2 separate regions of the Homo sapiens genome follow, and region 1 is linked to region 2. Evidence: promoter capture Hi-C in 16 types of primary human blood cells and fetal thymus (Javierre and others, 2016). All regions are on one chromosome and are shown on one strand. The core of a region is centred on a gene start or on the middle of the fragment in contact, and the rest is flanking DNA. Distances in the headings are between cores, read along the strand shown.

Region 1 (4,690 bases), core at 1,872-4,371, 210 kb before region 2:
GATCCGCCTGCCTCTGCCTCCCAAAGTGCTAGGATTACAGGCATGAGCCACCGTGCCTGGCCTATCTAAACTTTTTTTAAAAAAGACTGAAGTTTGCTCCCCAGTCCACCAAATTAATCTTGCCAGCCTTAAAATATTAAGTCATTTTCATGATTCTGTATCTATTAAATAGCAATAGGTTTCAGATCTGAAGAGGTCAAATTAATAGTTAAATAAAGGAACCATTCTAATTAGTAAAACTTGAGTAAATAAAAGCATCTGATCTATCACTTGGAATTCCTGATCATTGAATTTGACTTGCAAGTTTTAGTTAGGGAATAAAAGGATACCTCAACTCACGCAGCTCCGTAGCTAATTCTTATTGTAAATATACGAATCATCAACAGGTTTCAGATACAATACATATAGCCCTAGACTTATTCTCTAAATATATATATATATATATATATATATGTATGTCTACAAACATAAAAACAACCTATGTTCTCACTTTCTCATTAGGACTGAAAACACTGCCCCTGAAGTAAAAGTATACTTTTTAATTAATTTACCAGGCATTTCCGTAGAAAAGCCACATCTGTAGAAAATGTCACCCTTTTGAGGAGGGGGCATACTGGTTAAAATTTTAAGTGGTTGCCTATCTCCAAATGACCACAAAGGCAGCTTCTAAACTACTAATTACAATCAAGAAATTTCAGGTCTCAGGCCGGGCGTGGTGGTTCTTGCCTATACTACCAGCACTCTGGGAGGCCAAAGCAGATGGATCACTTGAGCCCAGGAGTTTGAGACCAGCTGGGCCACATGGTAAAACCCCTCTCTACAAAAAATAGAAAAATTAGCTGGGTGTGGTGGCATGTAGCCATGGTCTCAGCTACCTGAGAGGCTGAGATGGGAGGATCGCCTAAGCCCAGAGAGGTAGAGACTGCAGTGAGCTGAGATCATGTCACTGCACTCCAGCCTGGGCAACACAATGAGACTCTGTCTCAACAAAAGAAAAAAGAAATTTCAGGTCTGGATCCCTCAATGCAGAAGTGCCATTTTTAATTTCATTCATACTGTAAAATCTTTCACAAGGCTATATATTCTTTGATAAATTTACTTTACCTCACCGACGTATTTCTGTACAAGCTCAGATCCAATAACTCGAATGAAGCACGCATCAGTCCGATTAGCAACTGCCCGCGCACAGAGTGTCTTGCCTGTACCGGGTGGACCAAAGAGCAGCACGCCCTTGGGAGGCTCAATGCCAAGGTTCACAAACCTCTCTGGCTGTGATAGAGACACAATTTTCACACTTACCACTTCTGTATAACAAAAATCAGACTACTTCTAAATCAACAAAGTGCTTTTATGTTTAGTATTTTATCCTGAAAACCATACTTTAATATTTAAATCAAAATTATTAAGTCCACAATATACATACTTGAACTAAATAAGAAATTTTACTTATTCTAAGACATAAGTTCTAAACTGGACTTCTATCAATACATAAGACTAAATGGCTTTTAAAAAGCACTTCCATTATCCAGTCTTAAAATATTTTCCTAATTTAAAAAAAATTATGGTGTTTAAGGAACAAAATTATCTGGTATTCAGTATCCTAGTTTTCCATTATCCTCCCAAGTTTAACCTGCTTCAATTTAAGCCCCTTTCTTCTCGATGTCTTTTGAAGAACCAGTTTCTTCTATAATAGCCTGTAACATATTTAACATATTGCTAAAGGTTACACTGTGCCTCCTCTGTCACTGTAAACAGCAGATCTTTCTTTTTTAAATATACCTGACCACTCAATCCTTTTTGCTTGCTCTCCCCTAGAACTTACCAACTCTCCACACCTCCTCTCTCCACCCTCTCAAAAAACTCTCATTAGGGAAAATATTAAAAGCCATCTAATATACAAGCAATTTTAGTGCTCAATACACAAAAGACATCTTTATACAAAGAAATTTAAATACAACACTCAGCTACTTACATGAAGTAATGGGGTTTCAACTACTTCTCGCAGTTTCTCAATCTGTTCCTTACAGCCACCAACATCACTGTATGTGACATCAGGTTTCTCTTCCACCTAAGAGAGGGACAGAAATGTACAACATACAGTCACAGGCTTTTTGGATACTGTCCAAATTCAATAGAATAGACCTAATACCTTAAAAGAAAAACTCACAAGTGAGAATTTTAATAAAAATTGAATACATTGCCCAGTGCCCTGGAACTACTTGCTGTATTAACTTGTTATGACACTAATGAATGAAAAACAAACTAGTAAAATAAAGACAGGCTGAGACTCTGTCTCAAAAAATATATATATAAAATACTGCCGGGCTCAGTGGCTCACGCCTGGAATCCCAGCACTTTGGGAGGCTGAGGCAGGCCAAACACTTGAGGTCATGAGTTCGAAACCAGTCTGGCCAACATGGTGAAACACCGTCTCTACTAAAAATACAAAAATTAGCTGGGCGTGGTGGCGGGTGCCTGTAATCCCAGCTACTCGGGAGGCTGAGGCAGGAGAATTGCTTGAACCCGGGAGGCAGAGGTTGCAGTGAGCCAAGATCACACCATTCTACTCCAGCCTGGACAAGAGTGAAACTCCGCCTCAAAAAAAAAAAAAAAAAAAGACATAGCCTTCCTTTTCCCTCCCATAGTTTCTTACCTGCATCATGGTAACTGTTGGGTCAATCTTAGGAGGCAATGGAATGTGAATTTGATATTTATTTCTATCCACGCTAAGGAAGTAAAAAAGATAGTCATTAATACATTCTTTAAGCTTTCAAAGTGCTTTTATGTTTAGTCCTTTATCCCCAAAACCATACTTTAAGAAAACAAGAGAGAGACAGAGTCCCTAATTATATAAAGAGAAATAAAGAGAGCATGAAATCTGAGGATACTAAACTACATGTCTAATGTCGCAAACAACCTATCCAACAGCAATCAAACCTTTGAGGAGGGAGGGGAGATTTTTTTTTAATTTACTAAGTGAGTTGTTATGTATTCTATAGACATTAACACACTTAGCATCACAACTATCCTAAAGCAAGTACTCCCCCAACCTATACCATGTTACCTTAAATGGACTGGTAACCTCAACTCTGAAATTTGAAGCCATTCATAATAAACAACAGTGGGAGTAGGGGAGTCAGCGAAGCCGATGGGAAGTTAGGAAGCAGATGCAGAAGACAGAATTTTCAACTATAGTACATTACTAGATCATCCTTTGGTATTCCAAGGAACTCAGTCCATTTATTCACTACAAAGCCAAGGATATGAATGTGAGACAGTATCCTTAGTGAAAGAAAAGTATTTATTGTAAATAGAAATCTTACCCCACTCTCATCCCTTCTTCAATGTCAGTAGGTGCCACCTGATCACTAAGGTCCACCACAAACTTGGCAAACTGCTTTACGTTGATAATGTATTTTGGGTCCTCCGAATCAGCATTGATTATCTTTGTACACCTAACACAGCAAAAAGCTTGATTAGAATAAGGAACCTAAGCCACTAATAATGAATTCAACTAACTAGATTATATCCTGAGTGTGCAATATACAGGTATAAACTAGAACTACAGAAACTGGGACACTGTTAAAGATCCTTTTCTATACCCAACTCCAAAGGTCCATTCGACTTTAGCCAAGTCATAAAATTTTCAAATACATTCTCCTGGAAAATTAAACCCAAATATCTCATCATTAAGAAGTTCTCTGATTTCTTGATTTCCATAGTTTGTATTCCTTTATTATTAGTGATGCTCCTGTATATCTTAAGTTGCTCTCGTTTTTATTTTCCCTACAAAAAGATGGTCATCTTGTCTTACACCAAATTCAGTAATAAATGGGTTTTCATTCTTTTCCTGAGTTTATACTTTAAATCCGTTTTTCTTTTTTTTTTTTTTTTTTTTTTTGAGATGGAGTTTCACTCTTGTTGCCCAGGCTGAAACACAATGGTGTGATCTTGGCTCACTGCAACCTCCACCTCTTGGGTTCATGCAATTCTCCTGCCTCAGCCTCCCGAGTAGCTGGGATTACAGGCATGCACCACCATGCCTAGCTAATTTTGTATTTTTTTTTTTTTTTTTAGTAGAGAGGGGGTTTCTCTTGAACTCCCAACCTCAGGCTAGTCAGGCTGGTCTCGAAATCCCAACCTCAGGTGATCCGCCCGCCTCAGCTTCCCAAAGTGCTGGGATTACAGGCGTGAGCCACCACACCCGGACTTTAAATCCATTTTTATTGTTTTTGCTACTTTTTTCTTTTTTTAACTGAGGCAGTAGAAGCTTGTTTTTTTTTCTTTTTCTTTTTTTTGAGACAGAGTCTTGCTCTGGAGCCCAGACTGGAGTGCAGTGGTGCGATCTCGGCTCATTACAATCTCCGCCTCCTGGGTTCAAGCAGTTCTCCTGCCTCAGCCTCCCAAGTAGCTGGCATTACAGGAATGCGCCAGCACGCCCGGCTAATTGTTTTGTATTTTTAATATATACGGGGTTTCACCATGTTGGCCAGGCTGGTTTCAAACTCCCGACCTCAAGTGATCCACCTGCTTCGGCCTCCCAAAGTGCTGGGATTACAGGCGTGAGCCATTGCACCCGGCCAGTAGAAGCTATTTTTAACTTAATTATATTCATTTCCATATGGCCTGGTAAAAATGAATTTATAATGCCATGCACATCACAGTATAAAATAGTCAACCGCCTTTCCCC
Region 2 (4,685 bases), core at 1,259-3,758:
GGCATGGTGGTGGGCACCTGTAGTCCCAGCTACTCAGGAGGCTGAGGCAGGAGAATCTGGGAGGCAGAGGTTGCAGCGAGCCAAGATCTGGCCACTGCACTTCAGCCTGGGTGACAGAACGAGACTCCGTCTCAAAAAAAAAAGAAAAAAGAAGAGGCTTTACAAGAACCCCTTCTTTTATCCCTGGAAGAGGCTGTGTGTGAAACCAATGCCCACAGTTTGAAGGGCATTAGCATTCATCTTAGGGGAGTGTGGGTTGGCTGGCTTTCAGGTAGCACTTTGACCTCACACACCCATCTACTATGTCCAACTGGTCTGTCTGCTTCCCTCAGCCTTAACCAATAAAGGACAAGGACTTAAAAAAAAAGAGTGGGAGTGAGGGGAACAAAGGGCATCTTTTTTTTTTTTTTTTTTTTGAGACAGAGTCTTGCTCTGTCTACCAGGCTGGAGTGCAGTGGTGCCATCTTTGCTCACTGCAACCTCCATCTCTGGGGTTCAAGCAGTTCTACTGCCTCAGCCTCCCTAGTAGCTGGGATTACAGGTGAGCTCCACTATGCCTAGCTAGTTTTTGTATTTTTACTTGAGACAGGGTTTCGCCATGTTGGCCAGGCTGGTCTCGAACTCCTGACCTCAGGTGATCCTCCTGCCTTGGCCTCCCAAAGTGCTGGAATTACAGGCGTGAGCCACTGCGCCCAGCTTTTTTTTTTTTTTTGGGGAAATGGGGTCTTCTCTGTTGCCCAGGCTGGAGTGTAGTGGCGTGATCACAGCTCACTGCGGCCTTGATCTCCCAGGCTCAATCGATCCTCCCACCTCAGCCTCTGGAGTAGCTGGGACCACAAGGGCGGGCCATCAAGGCTGGCTACTTTTTTTTTTTTTTAATTATTATTTGTAGAGATGAAGTCTCGCTATGTTGCCCAAGTTGGTCTCCAACTCCTGGGCTCTAAGGATTCTCCTGCCTTGCCCTCCCAAAGTGCCGGGATTACTTCTCCGTTGCTTAGTCAAGAACACTATGAAGAACTTTTGAGTAGTAACTTCAACTTACCCTTTGGGTTTGTATGTATGCTGTTACTTTTTTTTTTTTCTTCTGTTGCACAAAGGTATTATTCACCTTATGCAGTTTCAGCTCCACCCAGGTGCAAGCAGCTCTTAATCACCCTTAAGTTCAGCAGCCACTCTAAGCTAGCCTGAGGAGATAAAGTCCACACTTGACATACAGTTCTTTACATTCCTCCAATGTCACACAGGCACATTCACTTTCAAAATGCAGAATAGTTTGGTCTGCATTTTTCTGCCAGTCTTATCTGCATTTAGAACCTGTGGTGGTGGTTTCTTTTTTGCCAAGATAACCCCAGGGACAAGCTTTTTTTTTTTTTTTTGACCCTGGCACACCCCAGGACTTTTATAATCTTTTTGCCCAACAACCCATTGTTGAATTTTACTTCGACATGCCTGTACTTTACTTCTTGAAACAACTAATTTCATTCTGCAGTTTAAAAAGCAAATCCAGTAAGAAACTCAGAATCACAATCGTATGCTCTTTCATAGTTATCCTAGCGTTAAAAAAGATGCAAATTTAGATGAGAACCGTGTGTACCAGGGGGCTGTGACATCATTTTAAAAGTAAACGATCACACAGTGAACAATGCCGTGCTCCCATTAATATTCAATACGTACTGTACAACATTTCAAATTAGAGTTTAGTTTCTTCGCTACCAGGATCCTAGCGCCATAGGCTGTAAGTATTCAAATGCTTCTCGACTGTGATTGAGTTGGCTATGACAGTCCGTCAATGGGTCTGCAGGATCCCATTTAGTTTTAGCAACTGTGGCTGGTGTCCAGGAATGCGTTCATGCGATCTGAAAGTAAGCCTCTGGCTTAGGACAGCGGGGGGAACCAATTTGATCTTAGGAGGGTCCCTGCAGAGTGTTTGAGTCGCGAGGCGGGCCGGGGCAGGCCGCGTGCTCCCAGGCGCTTCCTTTACCAAGATGGCTTCGGCGCCCCGGCCCACAGGGGCGGCCATCTTGGTAAGGGCTGGAGAGGCAGCCTGAAGGAGGCCACCGCTGGCCCTGCTGTCAGATTCGAAGGTCATAATAAGGGAGTGACCCGGCGACGACTCGCCCCAACGATGGCGAGGCGGCGAGAGCTGAAGCGCTGCCTGCAGCTGCTGGCGTCCTCGGCGGAGCCAGCGCGGCGGGCTCGGGTTAGGAAGAACCCGAGCGCCTGCCGCGGTCGCCCCTCCCGCTACGCGGCGGCGCTTTGCGCGGGGACTCTGTGGCCGGAAGCCGCGGAACTGAGGCGGCGCGCGCTCCCGGCCACCCCAAGCGCGAGGTGAGTCCGCACCCCCGCGCTCGCACCCCGCCGCTCTGGCCGCGCGCCCGCGGCCCGGGATCCCGAGTGTCCGGAGCTCCGTGGTTTCTGTTGGACCTCGCGGGAGGCGGTTTTCTCCCGCCTGCTGTGCTCTGTGACCTCTCTGCTGCCTCCTCCACGGTCTCTGGGCGGAGCAATCCACACTGCTGAGCCTGGGGTGGTTTGGAATTCTTCGGCGAAGTGGAGCGGGCTGAGAGTGGGTTTCCCGTCCCCGAGCCCTCCCTCATCTCGGAGATGCCGCACTTGTGAGCGACAGGGCTTCATTTGAATTTTCGCACCTCGCGAGTTGCGGAGCCTGCATCTCTGAAGCTGCCTCGGTGAAGAGCCACAGCATTATTTTTTTTCTCTTTGGGAGAGTAGCTGTCTGGGATTTGAGATCCTATCTTCCCTGCAAATTACCAGGTTGCATCTTCACTGATAGGAATACATGTGGGTTTATCTTCTTTTGGTTGTATGTAAATGAATGGGTCGACAACTTCCTCCGAGCAACTTATTGTTGCTTCATCTATAGTGTTTATCTTCTAAAAATCCATTCCAACAGGTTTCTCCCCTTTTATTTTGGAATAAGTGTACTTATTTAACTATGGAATGGAAATGAAGAGCAAAAAAAAAAATGGGGCTAGCTGGGGAGGGGTGGTGGAAGGCTGTGCTTTCTTGAGTTTTCTGTTCTGTGGTTGTTTGCTTCTTATAAATTGGGTATTATTGTGGGCTTTTCAGAACACGTATTCAGATAGGTTTTTGTTGTTGTTGTTTTGTTTGTTTGTTTTTTCCTTTTTTTTTTTTTTCAAGCTAGAGCTCGATATGGTAGATACTCTTCCATGGGTTCCGGGATCACATGCATTCATTATACGTCAGTTAAACCTGGAAAATATTAAGGGAGTGAGTAAAGTTTAACAGCCTTTTAAAAAGTCATTTAGTTCTTGTCTTTGCCTTTACTGTACGTTGTTATATATACATGTTATAATATGACTGACTCACCTGGTTGGCTTTGGCTTAGCATGAAATGTTTGCTACTTGATAATTCTGATTAATTTGTCCAGGAAGTCATTCCTGAGATGCAGTTCTTCAAATTGAGAAATAATTCCCATGTTTGTTAAAAAATGGAAATCTCTAACATTTCCATTTCTATTTTCAGTTACATTGGTTATGAATTAGCCGCAGACATGGACATCGTTTAGAAAGAAGTTATGTAATCTTTAAAAAGAAGATTACCTATATCCCACAATAGTGTGATTTTTGTTGCAAGAAAATACTGGGTCTGTTAAAGAAGAAATTTAGGGTAAAAGTACTTATTTAAAATAATAATTTAAGGAGAGATTGAGGGGTTAAATTTGTTTCAAGTCAACTGAAAATATAGTCAGGATTTTCAGAGATTTTGTTTTGTTAACATTCTGCAGGCTTTCCTGCTACAAGAATTATGGTAAGTCTCCAAGAGATAAAAATACTTAGTGTATTTCTCATACCCTTATTTTCACTCAGAATTCCAAATTATATTGTAGAAATTCTATGTTACAAAATTCTAATTTTAAAATTAGTCCAGTTATAACTATATGAAGAACATTTTAGCATAAGCATTCCATCACAGGGTTTTGGTTATACTTTAGTTGATACAGTCATTCTTGTGTTTGTTCGAAAGGGGTATTATGTTACTTTGAGTATTTGTGAGTTTGGTAAACTGAGAGGATTTTTATGAACATTTAGTCTGTGTTTGGAAAAGCAGTATTTGCCTTTAATTTTGTTGTTTCATTCTGCTTTTTCTTTGTGGTGATGGATAGCTGTGGATATAGTGAGTTTTTCCATTGCTTTCTACACTTTGTAAATAAGAATATAGCTATAGCTGGAGGACTGTTGATCTGGGCTTTTTAGGTTGAAATGCATACACATAAAAAGTGTTTTCATTGAAGTATTATTAGGGAAATGAACTGTATGTATAATTAATCGTTAAAGAGCACTTTTATTCTGGAGGCCAGTGAGGGCATGCATAAAACTGGCATTAAAATATCACCCATGTGATTTCCAGCATAAGATTCAAGTAATATTTCATTCTAACGCCTATACTACTGAATAATTCTGTCTACAATTTATAGTGCTTTGCTTGATTTGTCTTTTGAATTTATTAACCATTTATTGTGTATTTAAGTATTTTACTAACAGACTTTGGAGACAGATTGCATACGAACTCATATATCCCCAGGGGCAGTTTTATGTTAGAGATAGTCTTCTGCAACCTCAGCTGGTTAAATAATGTATTATAACTTTATCATTTACAAAGCTCTTTCAAATATTTTAAATATATGTATATATATAGAGAGAGTTTG

What was found. Contacts are between HindIII fragments. The CHiCAGO score rates a contact against its expected background, and 5 or more counts as called.
Region 1: a fragment that was not itself captured here is called in contact with the fragment with the promoter of NAPEPLD in region 2 in 1 of 17 cell types (erythroblasts); the score reaches 5.1 in erythroblasts.

The regions. Positions count from the first base shown.
Region 1 is chr7:103,360,722-103,365,411 of GRCh38, reverse strand. PSMC2 (proteasome 26S subunit, ATPase 2) reads right to left here. Exons shown (of 12, transcript NM_002803.4): 5 at 3,324-3,455; 6 at 2,654-2,726; 7 at 1,973-2,068; 8 at 1,105-1,269. It also overlaps a transcript of SLC26A5 not described here. Among named protein-coding and RNA genes, the nearest start is that of PSMC2, 15 kb to the right of the region's middle. The HindIII fragment of the contact is 704 bases long and covers 2,770-3,473 here.
Region 2 is chr7:103,146,922-103,151,606 of GRCh38, reverse strand. It overlaps NAPEPLD (N-acyl phosphatidylethanolamine phospholipase D), which reads left to right and starts at 2,508. Exons shown (of 5, transcript NM_001122838.3): 1 at 2,508-2,796. It overlaps LOC105375434, which reads right to left. Exons shown (of 3, transcript XM_047421168.1): 2 at 1,043-2,589. The coding sequence ends at 1,787. The HindIII fragment of the contact is 3,849 bases long and covers 1,362-4,685 here.